Linked DNA regions of Homo sapiens: all the other regions are linked to region 3. Evidence: promoter capture Hi-C in human tissues and cell types (Jung and others, 2019). All regions are on one chromosome and are shown on one strand. The core of a region is centred on a gene start or on the middle of the fragment in contact, and the rest is flanking DNA. Distances in the headings are between cores, read along the strand shown. Region 1 has its middle 150 kb from the start of ATOH1. Region 2 has its middle 170 kb from the start of SMARCAD1-DT. Region 3 holds the start of ATOH1 (atonal bHLH transcription factor 1).

What was found. The method cuts DNA at HindIII sites, captures the fragments that hold promoters and counts their contacts. A contact is called where the count stands out against the background at its distance.
Region 1: a fragment that was not itself captured here is called in contact with the fragment with the promoter of ATOH1 in region 3 in 2 of the 25 tissues and cell types used here (hippocampus and ovary).
Region 2: a contact is called between a fragment that was not itself captured here and the fragment with the promoter of ATOH1 in region 3, in 2 of the 25 tissues and cell types used here (H1 embryonic stem cells and mesendoderm cells).

Annotation. Positions count from the first base shown.
Region 1 is chr4:93,972,771-93,976,738 of GRCh38, reverse strand. No RefSeq gene overlaps it. Among named protein-coding and RNA genes, the nearest start is that of ATOH1, 150 kb to the right of the region's middle. The HindIII fragment of the contact is 9,166 bases long and covers 1-3,968 here.
Region 2 is chr4:94,039,804-94,043,846 of GRCh38, reverse strand. No RefSeq gene overlaps it. Among named protein-coding and RNA genes, the nearest start is that of SMARCAD1-DT, 170 kb to the left of the region's middle. The HindIII fragment of the contact is 3,748 bases long and covers 1-3,296 here.
Region 3 is chr4:93,826,117-93,830,233 of GRCh38, reverse strand. ATOH1 (atonal bHLH transcription factor 1) reads right to left here and starts at 1,481. Exons shown (of 1, transcript NM_005172.2): 1 at 1-1,481. The coding sequence starts at 1,307. The coding sequence ends at 243. RefSeq lists an enhancer at 2,659-3,364. The HindIII fragment of the contact is 12,246 bases long and covers 1-4,117 here.

The DNA.
Region 1 (3,968 bases), core at 1,153-3,652, 150 kb before region 3:
CATGTGGGAATTGTGGGAGTTACAATTCAAGATGAGATTTGGGTGGGGACACAAATCTCCAAACTATATCGTCTGGTTATGATGAAGTAATTCCTATTAGACCAACCCTCCCACTAAGCATAACTATATTAACTATAAAAAACAAGATTCAAAAAGACAATTACCAGAGACATGGTAGAGTAAATACAAGCAGAAAAATCTGAAGAGAGCTTGGCTTTTGGAGGAAGGGAACAGCCATCAGTTTCTGGTATATATATATATATATATATATATATATATATATATATATTTTTTTTTTTTTTTTTTTGCCCGAGGGCAGGCTCACTCAGTGATGCAAGTAGCAGCTAAAATTTGGATGGAAATCTGCAATCTTAATGGCTCAAAGACTCAGGACAGAATTTGAGGCTGCCACAGCCACTGGTAAGTAAGGTAACATACTGGGTTAATAGTGTCCACTGAAAATTCATGTCTACTCCGAATCTGTGAATGTGACTTTATTTGAAAATAGAATCTTTGCAGATGTAGTAAAGTTAAAATGAGGTCATACTAGATTAGGATAGGCCCTAATCTAGCCTTATACGAAGAAGAAAATGTGGACACAGATACACAGAGGGAAGATGGCTATGTGAAGAAAGGGCAGAGATTGGAGTATGCAGCTATAAACCAAGGAATGCCAAGTATTGCTGGCAATGGCCAGAAACTGGGAGAGAACCGTAAAACTGAATCTCCTTCAGATCCTCTAGAAGAAATCAACCTTACTAGTACCTTCATTTTGGATTTCTAGCTTCCAGAATTACTAGAGAATACATTTCTTGTTTTAAGGCACCCAGCTTATTATACTTTGTTATGGCAGCTCTAAAAAACTAATACAGGGAGAAAATACAGGAAAGGAGAGGGGCATCCCAAATTCTGAGTATAAAATATGCTACTATTTCTGGCTGATCCATGAATTGCATATGCATGGAGTAGCTAAGGCTAAATAATTTAACAGGATTTCAGCTGCATCACTCCACAAGGGATAGAGAGTTTAAAGTTTGAGTTCAGCCAAGTTAACTGCCAGCTAATATAACAACAAACTCATCAAAAACCCCCACAATATTATCTGGAGGAATATAAGAGAATCCCGAGTCTTTACAATATTTCACTGAAAAGATACAATAAATATTTATAATATATCACTCACAGGATGCAATTCCAAATTACTAGACACATGAAACAATAGGAAAATGCAATCCTTATTTATGAGAAAAGGTAGTAATTTGTCTCTTAGGTGATTCAGATACTGAAATTATCAAATAAGGATTTTTTTTTGAGGCAGGGTCTTGCTTTGTTGCCCAGGCTGGGGTGTAGCATCACAGTCTTGGCTCACTGCAACCTCTGCCTCCTGGTCAACCTCCACCTCCTGGGCTCAAGCGATCCTCCTACCTCAGCCTCCCAAGTAGCTGGGACCACAGGTGTGCACCACCAAGCATGGTTAATTTATTTTTTATTTTTTGTAGAAATGGGGTTTCATCATGTTGCTCAGGCTGGTCTCAAGCTCCTGGGCTCAAGCAGTTCATTGCCTTGGTCTCCCAAAGTGCTGGGATTACAGGTGTGAGCCACTGCAGCCAGCCATATAAGGATTTTAAAGCAATTATTAAGCTATATTCAAGGATGTAAAATAAAATATGGCTGCAATGAGCTAACAAATAGGAAATTTCAGCCAAGAAATAGAAACTGTGAAAAAAACCAATTGGAAATTATTAAACTGAAATAAACATATCTAAAGAAATACTGAGAGTTTGAAAGAAGATCAGAGATGATAAATTATCATTGAATTTGAAAGTAGAGCAATAGAAATTATTCAATCTGAAGATCAGAAAGAATAAAGATGAAAAAAATAGAGTCTCAATATCTGTGGAACAATATCAAACAGTCTAACAGATAGTTAATTAGAGTGTAAAATATATTACCAATAATGGCTCAAAAGATCTTAATTTACAGATTTAAAAGTCTATAAATCTTATAAATCTAAAGATCTTATTTATAGATTTAAAAGTCTCACTGCTGAAAAAACATAAAACCACACCTAGATACATTATACTCAACCTGCTAAAAATTAAAGATAAAGAGAAAATATTAACAGAGTCAAAGGACATATGGTATACAGGGGAACAAGAATATAAATGATTTATTATCAAAAACAATGGTATACAAAAAACAGCAGTATACCATCTTTAAGACACTGAAAGAAAACTGTCAACTCAGACTTCTATTTCAATGAAAATATCAGGTATTTAGAAAATTGCTCAAATGTTGGAAAGTAAATAATATACTTCTAAATTACCATGACTGAAGGAACTCACTAGTGAATTTAGATATTTTAACTGACTAACAGTGAACACGGAAAGTTATAAAAAATCTGTGTGATGCAGCTAAAGCAGTGCTTGGAGGGAAATGTATAGCTTTTAAATGCCTGTATTAGAAAAGCAGAAAGGTGTGATACCAATGAAAAGCAGAAAATCATTTGAGAAATTCAACAAAAGCAAAAGCTAGTTGTTTTAAAAGATCAACAAAATTGATAACTCCTAGTTAGAATGATTAAGAAATAAAGAGAGGGACATAAATTATACCTATATCAGGAATTAAGAGAGAATATCACTAGAGATGTTGTAACTATTAAAAGGATAATAAGAGAAAATGTAGACAACTTTATGCCAATAAATCTAACAAGTTAGATTAAACAGATAAATTATTTGAAAAATACAACATATCCAAATTGACACAAGATACAATAGAAAATCTGAAGGGTCCTATATTGTTATACATTTATCAATTGATTAGAAAATTAACATTTCCCTCTTTTTAAAATCTTATACCTGGTTTTATACAACAGGGTGTCAATGTATTTTGTGTCTGCCATTGACCCCTTCTTTAATAGTCAAGTGATTACTCTCAAAATAATGCATGAAAATTTATTTATGCATAATAAAAATACACATGATTACAAAAGAAAATTATTACATTAAAATACAGTCACCAAAAATATATGGTACTCTATTTGCTTGTTTAGTAACACATTAAGTAATAAGATCTATTAGTGGATCTAATAACTATCATTATTTCAAAGTGGTGATGAGTATAAATGCTATTTTGAGACATCTGCAATAACAGTAATAAAATATCAAAACATCTGGGATTTCTGATGGTATTTTATACCCTATTTTAATTTGTTTTTATCATTAATTATTACCTGTTACAGATGTTCTTTGTGACAGTTCCATGTATGCAAATTACATGAACAAATGTCTCCTACTTACAAAGGTGCTTAATAATAATAATAATAATAATAATTTTTCTTTTACCATAGCTTTTTGGTGTGCTCTAAAAATAGTCATAGAAACCAGGTCTGCCTAAGAATACCAACTTTTTGTGAGACTTCCAGAACCTTGTATCTAGAGGTTACATTTTATTTCACATAAAGACTTGAGGCCTGTCTTTAGCGGGAACAGAGTTTGGTTCTGGAATAAGAAATTTGGCTTGATGAAGTGTATCTCATGGCTATTATATGAATTTTGCAAAGAAATATCTGTGTTTTTTTTTTTTTTTGAGATAGGGTCTCACTCTGTTGCCTGGGCTGGAGTACAGTGGCACAATCGTAGCTCACTGTTACCCCAAACTCCTAGACTCAAGCAATCCTCCCACCCCAGCATCCTGGCTAATTTTATTTTTATTTTGTGGAGACAGGGTCTCACTATGCTGCCCAGGCTGGTCTTGAACTTCTGGCCTCAAGCAATCCTCCTGCTTCTGCCTCCCAAAGCACTGGGATTACAGGTATGAGCCACCACCACCAGCCTGCAAAGAAATATTTGAATGAGGGATGGTGGAGGATATGTTAAAATTGCCCTAAAAAGAAGGCAAAATATAAAAGAATGATTCAGATTTAAAAATGGCACAAGAGAAAGAAATACAAATCTTGGATAAATCAG
Region 2 (4,043 bases), core at 173-2,672, 210 kb before region 3:
TTGAGTAGCCCATATTTACTTCCATATATCTTGTGCAGGAATTATTGTCTCCACAACAGAGAAAGCAGAAACTTTGAGAGACTGACTTGCCCAATGGCTCACAGCTACAAAGTAGCAGAGCTAATTCCTAAATCCCAAACTTCTAGGGCTTATTTCATTATTCTACAACATCTCGTAGTATGCTTAGTTTCATCTGGTCAAATGCATGCTCAGATATTATAGAATTATTTCTGTTCCTTGAAAGTTCCATGTGGGTTCATTTCTCTATTTTTCTATGTATTCTTTGTTTCTAGATTAACTTTGTCTTCCTGTCTACCTGGGAAACATTTATCTTCAAGACCTAGTCGTAGAATGTGAAGCATTCTCTGGTCCAGCCTCCCTCTTCAGGGTCATTATGTGGTGTTTTGGTACTTAGTTCTTGCCACTTTTATGAGGTTAATGCTATCTATTGAAATGTCCTATTATATGTTTACCTTTCCTGTTAGACAGTAAGCTTCTTGAACGCAGGTATTTGTCTCCATCACTTCTAGATCCCTGGCACTCAGTACAATGACCAACACATATTAGGTTCCGTATATTTTAAACCAAATCATGGAAGCACATGTAAATTATAGTCGCATGTTCATTTTTCACATTTCTTTTCTCCATGACAGCATGGACATTGTCCACCTTCTTATCAGGATAAGGTATGTAACCTATCTGTGCAAAAAAGGGCCTTGCATGACTTTTCAAAGTTTCCAGTTCCAAGACCTTGTTACTAGAGCTAGGTATTTATATATGTACTAACTGCTGCATGGGAGTTTAATTTCAGACTTTTCTATTTTCATATATTCTCGATATGAGATTGTGGAAATTAATGGAGGCTTCTTGTGTTTTTATTACACACACACACACACACACACACACACACACACTTATTCACAGCCTTTCCAATATCTCCTTCAAGCTGGGGAATTAAGAGCTGTATGAACAGGGGAGGAGGTGAAGAATGAGGAAAAGCAACCAAGGTTGTGTGGTTGAGTGACATGACACGAGAACTTCCTTCTCTGTCTGGTACTCCCAATTTTCAGTCTCTGTCTCCATCTAGGCAATGGGGTGAGAGGGAGCTGCACTGATGGAGAGGCTGCTGTAGGAGCTTTTGTATCAGGTGAAGCACCCATTCTCTGTGTTGTTTGAACACAGACACACACAACTCCCTCATGCTCCATGGTTTGCAATGTACTGCAGCAGTTTACCTTTTGCACAAATGTAAAATCAAGCAGTCATTCATTGTGTGTGGTGGTATAAAGATTTGATGGCTTCCAATCCCCAAGTACAGGCATAACTCATTTTATTGTGCTTTGCTTTATTGAATTTGGCAGATATTGACCTTTTTACAAATTGAGGATTCGTGGCAACCCTGCGTTGAGCAAGTCTGTTGGCACCATTTTTCCAACAGCTTATGTCACTTTGTGTCTGTGTCACATTTTGGTAATTCTTGCACTATTTCAAACTTTTTCATTATTATATATCTGTTATGGCTATCTGTAATCAGTGATATGTGATGTTACTATTGTATTTGTTTTGGAGCACCATGAATTCTGTCCATACAGGACAGCAAACTTAATTGATAAATGTGTGTACTCTGACTGCCCCACCAATCAGCTATTCCCCAGTTTCTCTCCCTCTTTTGGGGCCTCCATATTCCCTGAGACACAATACTGAAATTAGGCCACTTAATAACTCTATAATGGCCTCTAAGTCTTCAAGTGAAAAAAAGATTCACACACCTCTCACCTGAAATCAAAAGCTGAGAATGATTTAGCTTAGTGAGGAAGGCATGTTGAAAACTAGATAGGGCCAAAGCTAGGCCCCTTGCACCAAACAATTAGCCATGTTGTAAATGTAAAAGAAGAGTTCTTGAAAGAAATTTAAAGTGCTACTCCAATGAACACACAAATGATAAGAAAATAAAACAGTTTTATTGCTGATGTGAAGAAAGTTTGAGTGGTCTGGATAGATGATCTAACCAGCCACAGCATTCCCTTAAGTCAAAATCTAATCCAGAGTAAAGACCGAATTCTTTTCAATTCTAGGAAGGCTGACAGAGATGAGGAAGCTGCAGAAGAAAAGTTAGAAGCTAGCAGAGGTTAGTTCATGAGGTTGAAGGAAAGAAGCCATCTCCATAACATAAAAGTACAAGGTGAAACAGCAAGAGCTGATGCAGAAGCCACTGCAAGTTATCCAGAAGGTCTAGCTAAGATAATGGATAAAGGTGGCTACACTAAACAAAGAATATCTATGTAAACAATATAGTCTTCTATCGAAATAAGATGCCATCCATTAGCTTTTATAGCTAGAGAGAAGTCAACATTTAGCTTCAAAGCTTCAAAGGATAGGCTGACTCTCTTGTCAGGGGTTAATGTAGCTGGTGACTTTCAGTTGAAGCCAGTGTTCATTTACCATTCTGAAAATCCCAAAACCCATACATATTAAGCTAAATCTACTCTGGTTATGCTCTATGAAGGAAAACAAAGCCTGGGGGGACAGCAAATCTGTTCATGGCTTGGCTTACTGAACATTTTTAGCCCACTCTTGAGCCACACTCCTCAAAAAAAGATTCTTTTAAAAATATTACTACTCGTTGACAATGCACCTAGTCACCCAAGAGCTCTGATGAAAATATACAGGGTGATTAATGTTGTTTTCATGCTTGCTAACACAGCATCCATTCTGCAGCCCATGATCAAAGAATAATTTTGATTTTCAACTCTTACCATTTAAGAAATACATTTCTTTAGGCTATAGCTGCCATTGATAGTGATTTCTGTCATGGATCTGGGAAAAGTAAATCGAAAACTTTTTGGAAAGGATTTACTATTAAAAACATTCACGATTTATGGGAGGAGGTCAGAATGTCAACATTAGCAGAGGTTTGGACAAAGTTGATTCCAACCCCCATGAATGATTTTGAGGGATTCAGTACTTCAGTGGAGGAAGTAACTGAGATGTGGTGAAATAGCAAGAGAACTAAAATTAGAAGTAGAACCTGAAGGTGTAACTGAATCGCTGCAATCTCATAATCAACTTGAATGGATGAGAAATTGCTTCTTATAGATGAGCAAAGAAAGTGGTGTCTTTGGGTGGAATCTATTCCTGGTGAAGATGCTGTAGACATTTTGGAAATGACAACAAAGGATTTAGAACATTACATCAACTTAGTTGATAAGGCAGTGGCAGAATTCGAGAGGGTTGACTCCAGTTTTCAAAGAAGTCCTACTGTGGGTAAAATGCTATCAAACAGCGTCACATGCTGCAGAGAAATCATTTGTTCAAGGAAGAGTCAATGGATGGCACAGACTTCATTGTCTTATTTCAAGAAACTGCCATAGCCAGCAACCACCACCCTGATTGGTCAGCTGCCATCATCATCAAAGCAAGATCCTCCATAAGCAAAAACGTTATGACTCGCTGAAGGCTCAATGATCTTTATTATTTTTTATCAAAACTGTTTTTAAATTATGTACCTTTTTTGACATAATATTATTTTACACTTAATAGACTACAGTATAGTATAAACATAACTTTTATGTGCACCAACCGAGAAACCAAAAAAATCAGTGTGACTAATTTTTATCACTTTATTGCAATATTTGCTTTACTGTGGGGGTCTGGAACTGAATCTTCAATATCTTCAAAGTATACCTATAATCACAAAACTTCTGCTGAAGATTTCTTTTAGTTCTCTCTCCTCTGTCTTCTTCTTTCCCCATTAACCACTGCCAGCGAAGAATAACATACAAATATTTGATCTTTCCTTGGGGTTGCTGGAAATAACATGAATTGGGAGCTGGAGAATCTTAGGTTGGTATTCTTCCTTCATCATTTATTAGTGATGTAAACTTGAATAAACTGCACAATCATTCTGAAGCAGTTTTCTCACCCATGAAATGGACTTAACAGCCTGCACCTTGCAGTAGTTCAAAGGACTAAACAAAACAAAGAAGAGGACAGTGCTGATGCCTGGTAGGTCTAGCTCAGCAAGTGTTAGTTCCCTTCTCCTT
Region 3 (4,117 bases), core at 232-2,731:
GGAAAGGACACAATTTTAACAGAAAGTTTTCATCAAACAATATGGACCGTAGGAAGTTTGGAACAGCGGCGGCATTTGCAAACCATCAAATGTAGCTGCCATCTGAAGCCAAGTCGTTGCTAAACAACGACCATCGCAGAGCAAAAATTAAAGGGTGCGGGGATCTTTAACCGCGGGGCTTCCCGCGCACTGGGAAAGGGCAGTTTTGTTTCTGTCTCAGTTTTCAGGCTTCTGTCACCTTCCTAACTTGCCTCATCCGAGTCACTGTAATGGGAATGGGGGGAAAATTCCCCGTCGCTTCTGTGGGACCGAGGCGAAGTTTTGCTGTTTTCCTCCTGCACTGGCTGCAAGATGCTCCCGGGGAGAGAAGGAGACAAATTCTTTTGCGCCATCATCGCTGTCAGGGCGCTGTCCTCGAAAGTCGAGAAGTGCAGAGCGTCCAGCTGCACCGAGTACCCTCCCGCAGAAGCTGGGGCTGAGAAGCGAGTCCGGCAACTCCCGGGCGGGGTCGGCCGCTGGCTCCCTCCGGAAGCCTGCTGAGCCCCAGCTGCGGTCGCGTTGCCCGCGCCCCCTTCATAGGAGGCCGCGGTGCGAAGGTGGTGGTGGTCGCTTTTGCAGGAGGCTGGAGGCGGCGGTGGCTGTTCCCCTCCGCTGGGCGTTTGTAGCAGCTCGGACAAGGCGTTGATGTAGATTTGGGCCATCTGCAGGGTCTCATATTTGGACAGCTTCTTGTCGTTGTTGAACGACGGGATAACATTGCGCAGCTGGTCGAAGGCGTGGTTCAGCCCATGCATCCTGCGCCGCTCCCTGGCGTTGGCTGCTAGCCGTCTCTGCTTCTGCACCCCATTCACCTGTTTGCTGGAAGGGGCCCGTTGGCGGCTGCAGCCCAGCTCGTCTACCACCACCCCGCCTTTCAGCTTGCACAGCTGTTCCCGCACTTTCACCGGCCCGGGGCTCTTGCTGCTGCTGGCACCGCCGCTGCTCCTCCTTACCAGCTCCCCCCGGCCGTCCACCTCGTCCCGGGGCGCAGCGGCCTCTGAGGCACCCAGCTCCGGGGAATGTAGCAAATACTGGGCGGCGCGTGCCGTGCAGATGCCCTGCAAAGTGGGAGCCAGCCAGGCGCGTGGGTCGGTGCTGTCCAGGAGGGACAGCTCAGGCGGGTAGACGGGATGCTCTCTCGCCTGCAAAGTTGCAGGTGGCTGCGGCGGCGGCGGCGGTTGCGGGAGATGATGCGGCTGGGGCTGGCGATGGTGGTCTCCCAACTCCTTCACTTCAGCCCACTCTTCTGCATGCAGCAGGCGGGACATTGCACTGCAAAGGCTCGGAGGCTCAGGATCGGAGGCAGCACTGGGACACCAGCTCAACCAAAAAAAAGGCCCTTTCCGGGTCTCTTCTGCAACGTCTTATTTTTTTTTCCCTCCTCGACCCTCCCCCACCCACTCGGAGATCACACACCAGGTCGCGTGCAACTATGCTTCTCCGGTTGCTGAAGGCGCTGCGCCCCTTTAAAAAGCGGCACGCGCCACTCAGTCTCCCCCCGCTCCTCTCCCAACCCCCTCCTCGCGCCGGTCGCGTGTCTTCTCAGCCAATGGAGGGCGCGGGCAGGCGCGTGCGAGCAGCCAATCAAAGAGTTTTTACACCCCGAGAAAAGTTCTTGTGTGCAGAGGACTCCCAAGCCTGCTCAGGTTTTTTTTTTTTTTTCCTTCTTTTAAATTCGTCAGATTCATATGTTAATTGCAGGGCTGTAATTCGACTCCGGTGTGTGTCACCACCCCGGCGGCTGGGGTGCGGGAGCGGTGCGGAGCCGGCTCTCGGCTGGTGCCCAAGCTGACTCGGGTCAGATGTGCACGACCGCGGGCGGCTCTGGGCGATTCTGGACCCGCCAGGCGCCCAGAAGCCACTCAAAGCAGAGAGAAGGCCGCCTACCCTGTGCTGCCCCCAAGCTAGGATCACAGCTCCCACTTCTGATGCCCAAGCATTTACGATTTCTCATGTATAATAGGATGTTTGTATTTATGTATGCAGGTATTTATAAATCTCTCATGCATGTTCATAGATATATAACTGCTACATGACGTCCATCATTTAAGATTGCTGTTGGAATAAAGGGGGAAAACCCACTCGTCTCAGAGTATGTTTCTTACTTTTGCTCCATCTTTTCATTTTTTACTTCAGATCTCTTAGTTCGACTTCGTCATATGATCTTTTTCTTAATGGAAAATAGAGCTGCGGTGTAGTGATAGCACACCAAATTCCAGATCCCCCAATTCTCTCTGTCCCCTTTCCCCAGCACCCTGCGGCCAATTAGGATTGTAATCTGCCTAAATCTCTCCGTTGAGTGTAATTTAGGGCCAGAATATTTTACGGTATTATGCAGAGTTTCAACACACACAGTAGGACTCCTCATTAAATGCCCAGCCAGGGGAGGGTGCCCAAAGTAAAATGAAAGGCGCCTGCATTCCCTGCAATCCTTAACACTTTCAAGGCACAGAAGTCCCAAGTTACCTACCCTTTTGCCTCGATCGCCCTCTCTTTACTGCGGGCTCGTGGCTTCCTCAGTTTAACCTCCTCCCGCCCCTCCGTTTAGTTAGGGTGGGCTTCCCCTTTCCAGCCCCCACCCCCACCCCACTCCGCCCCATACAATCAGGGAGGTCCTTGGCAAGGGGGGGAGGCCAATTCCCAGGTGAACGCCCCCTCCGGTCCTATTAGCCTCGGCCTAGTCTATTCACAGCAAAGAGCCAATCAGAAGCTCATTGGCCCTGGGCGCGCCCCAGCTTGCGCCCAGCGCGCCCTGGCTCTGGCTCCGGGCGCTCTCCTGCACCGCCCCTGGGGCGCGGGAGTGCGATGCAACCTGTTGATGCTACTGTTGCTTTTACTTTCCCAGTGGCTGTAATCCCGAAAGGAGTCTCATCCTCTAGGAGAGATGTTAAAAAAGAGCCCAAGAGATAGCTCCCTGGAATATGTCTTTGCAATGTCCAGAGGCAGTTGAATGTTGTTTTCGCAAACATTTGCCGGGGCTTGATCTAACCTGTCATCTAGAACTCCTTGGGCAGTAGATTTTCTGGGACTGGACTGGACATATCCTATAAAGATACAGAATGGCAGAATAGGGTGCTAAAATGATGTTTAAGACATTATTCTTCACCTGTTTCTTCTTCAACCTCGTCTGTTTGCTGGTGTCTAGGAATAGTCTTGGGCGTATCTTACGTGCCAGAAACTTCAGAGCTTTATTCTTGTGTGAATGTTTGGGCTCTGCTGAAATAAATGTTAAAGACACACAAAAGCAACAACAAAAAACAAACCTAATCTGAAAACCATCCATGAGAACAAAGAAAAAGAAAAGGCCATCTAATGTATTTTTTTTTTTTTGGGCAGAAAATTCTCCGTTTGGTGATTGAAGTGGGTGTTATTGAAATCGACTAATAATGCTGTTACTATAAATAGTGCTACCATATAAAATGTGCTTCTTGAGAAAATAATTGCTAGTAGCTGTAGATGCTTAAGTAGAACTTTCAGAGAGACAATTAACTGTCATCTATATATGTATGGCAGTGTAAGCAGCTAGTGCCTGGTAGTATCGGTTGTCTATATTGCATTTTTTTCCCTATACGTCCACTTTTTTTTCCAACTCTATCAGCTGAAAATTAATCCCGAAATTCTTTCACATAATGTCACTACCAAATGTGTAGGATGCCCAAATTTTCCTTGAGCTTGCATCATCCAAACTTTGTGCTTTAAATTTGATTGTATAATACACAATATTCACTTTCCTTTGAGTTTCAACAGTTTTATGGGCTGTAGTGAAATATTTGCTGAATATATAGAATATTGGTCCTAATATGCCAGGGTTACATATAACCTTTAGTATTATTACTTTTTTGAAGCAAACGTCAATTTTTAGGTGAGTAAATTAGAATGTTCCAGTAATGTGAGGGACAGTAAGAGTTTTGGTAGTTTACGGTGAAATATATTTATTTGGCCCTTAAAATAAGTAGGGACCTATTCTTCTCCTCCCTCCCTCCCTTTTTCTTCTCTTCTTTCTCCCCCATTAGGCAGAGCTGAGGAAGCTTGTCATCTGAACTGGGGAAGGGGGCACAGGGCCTTGAGCATGGGGTTG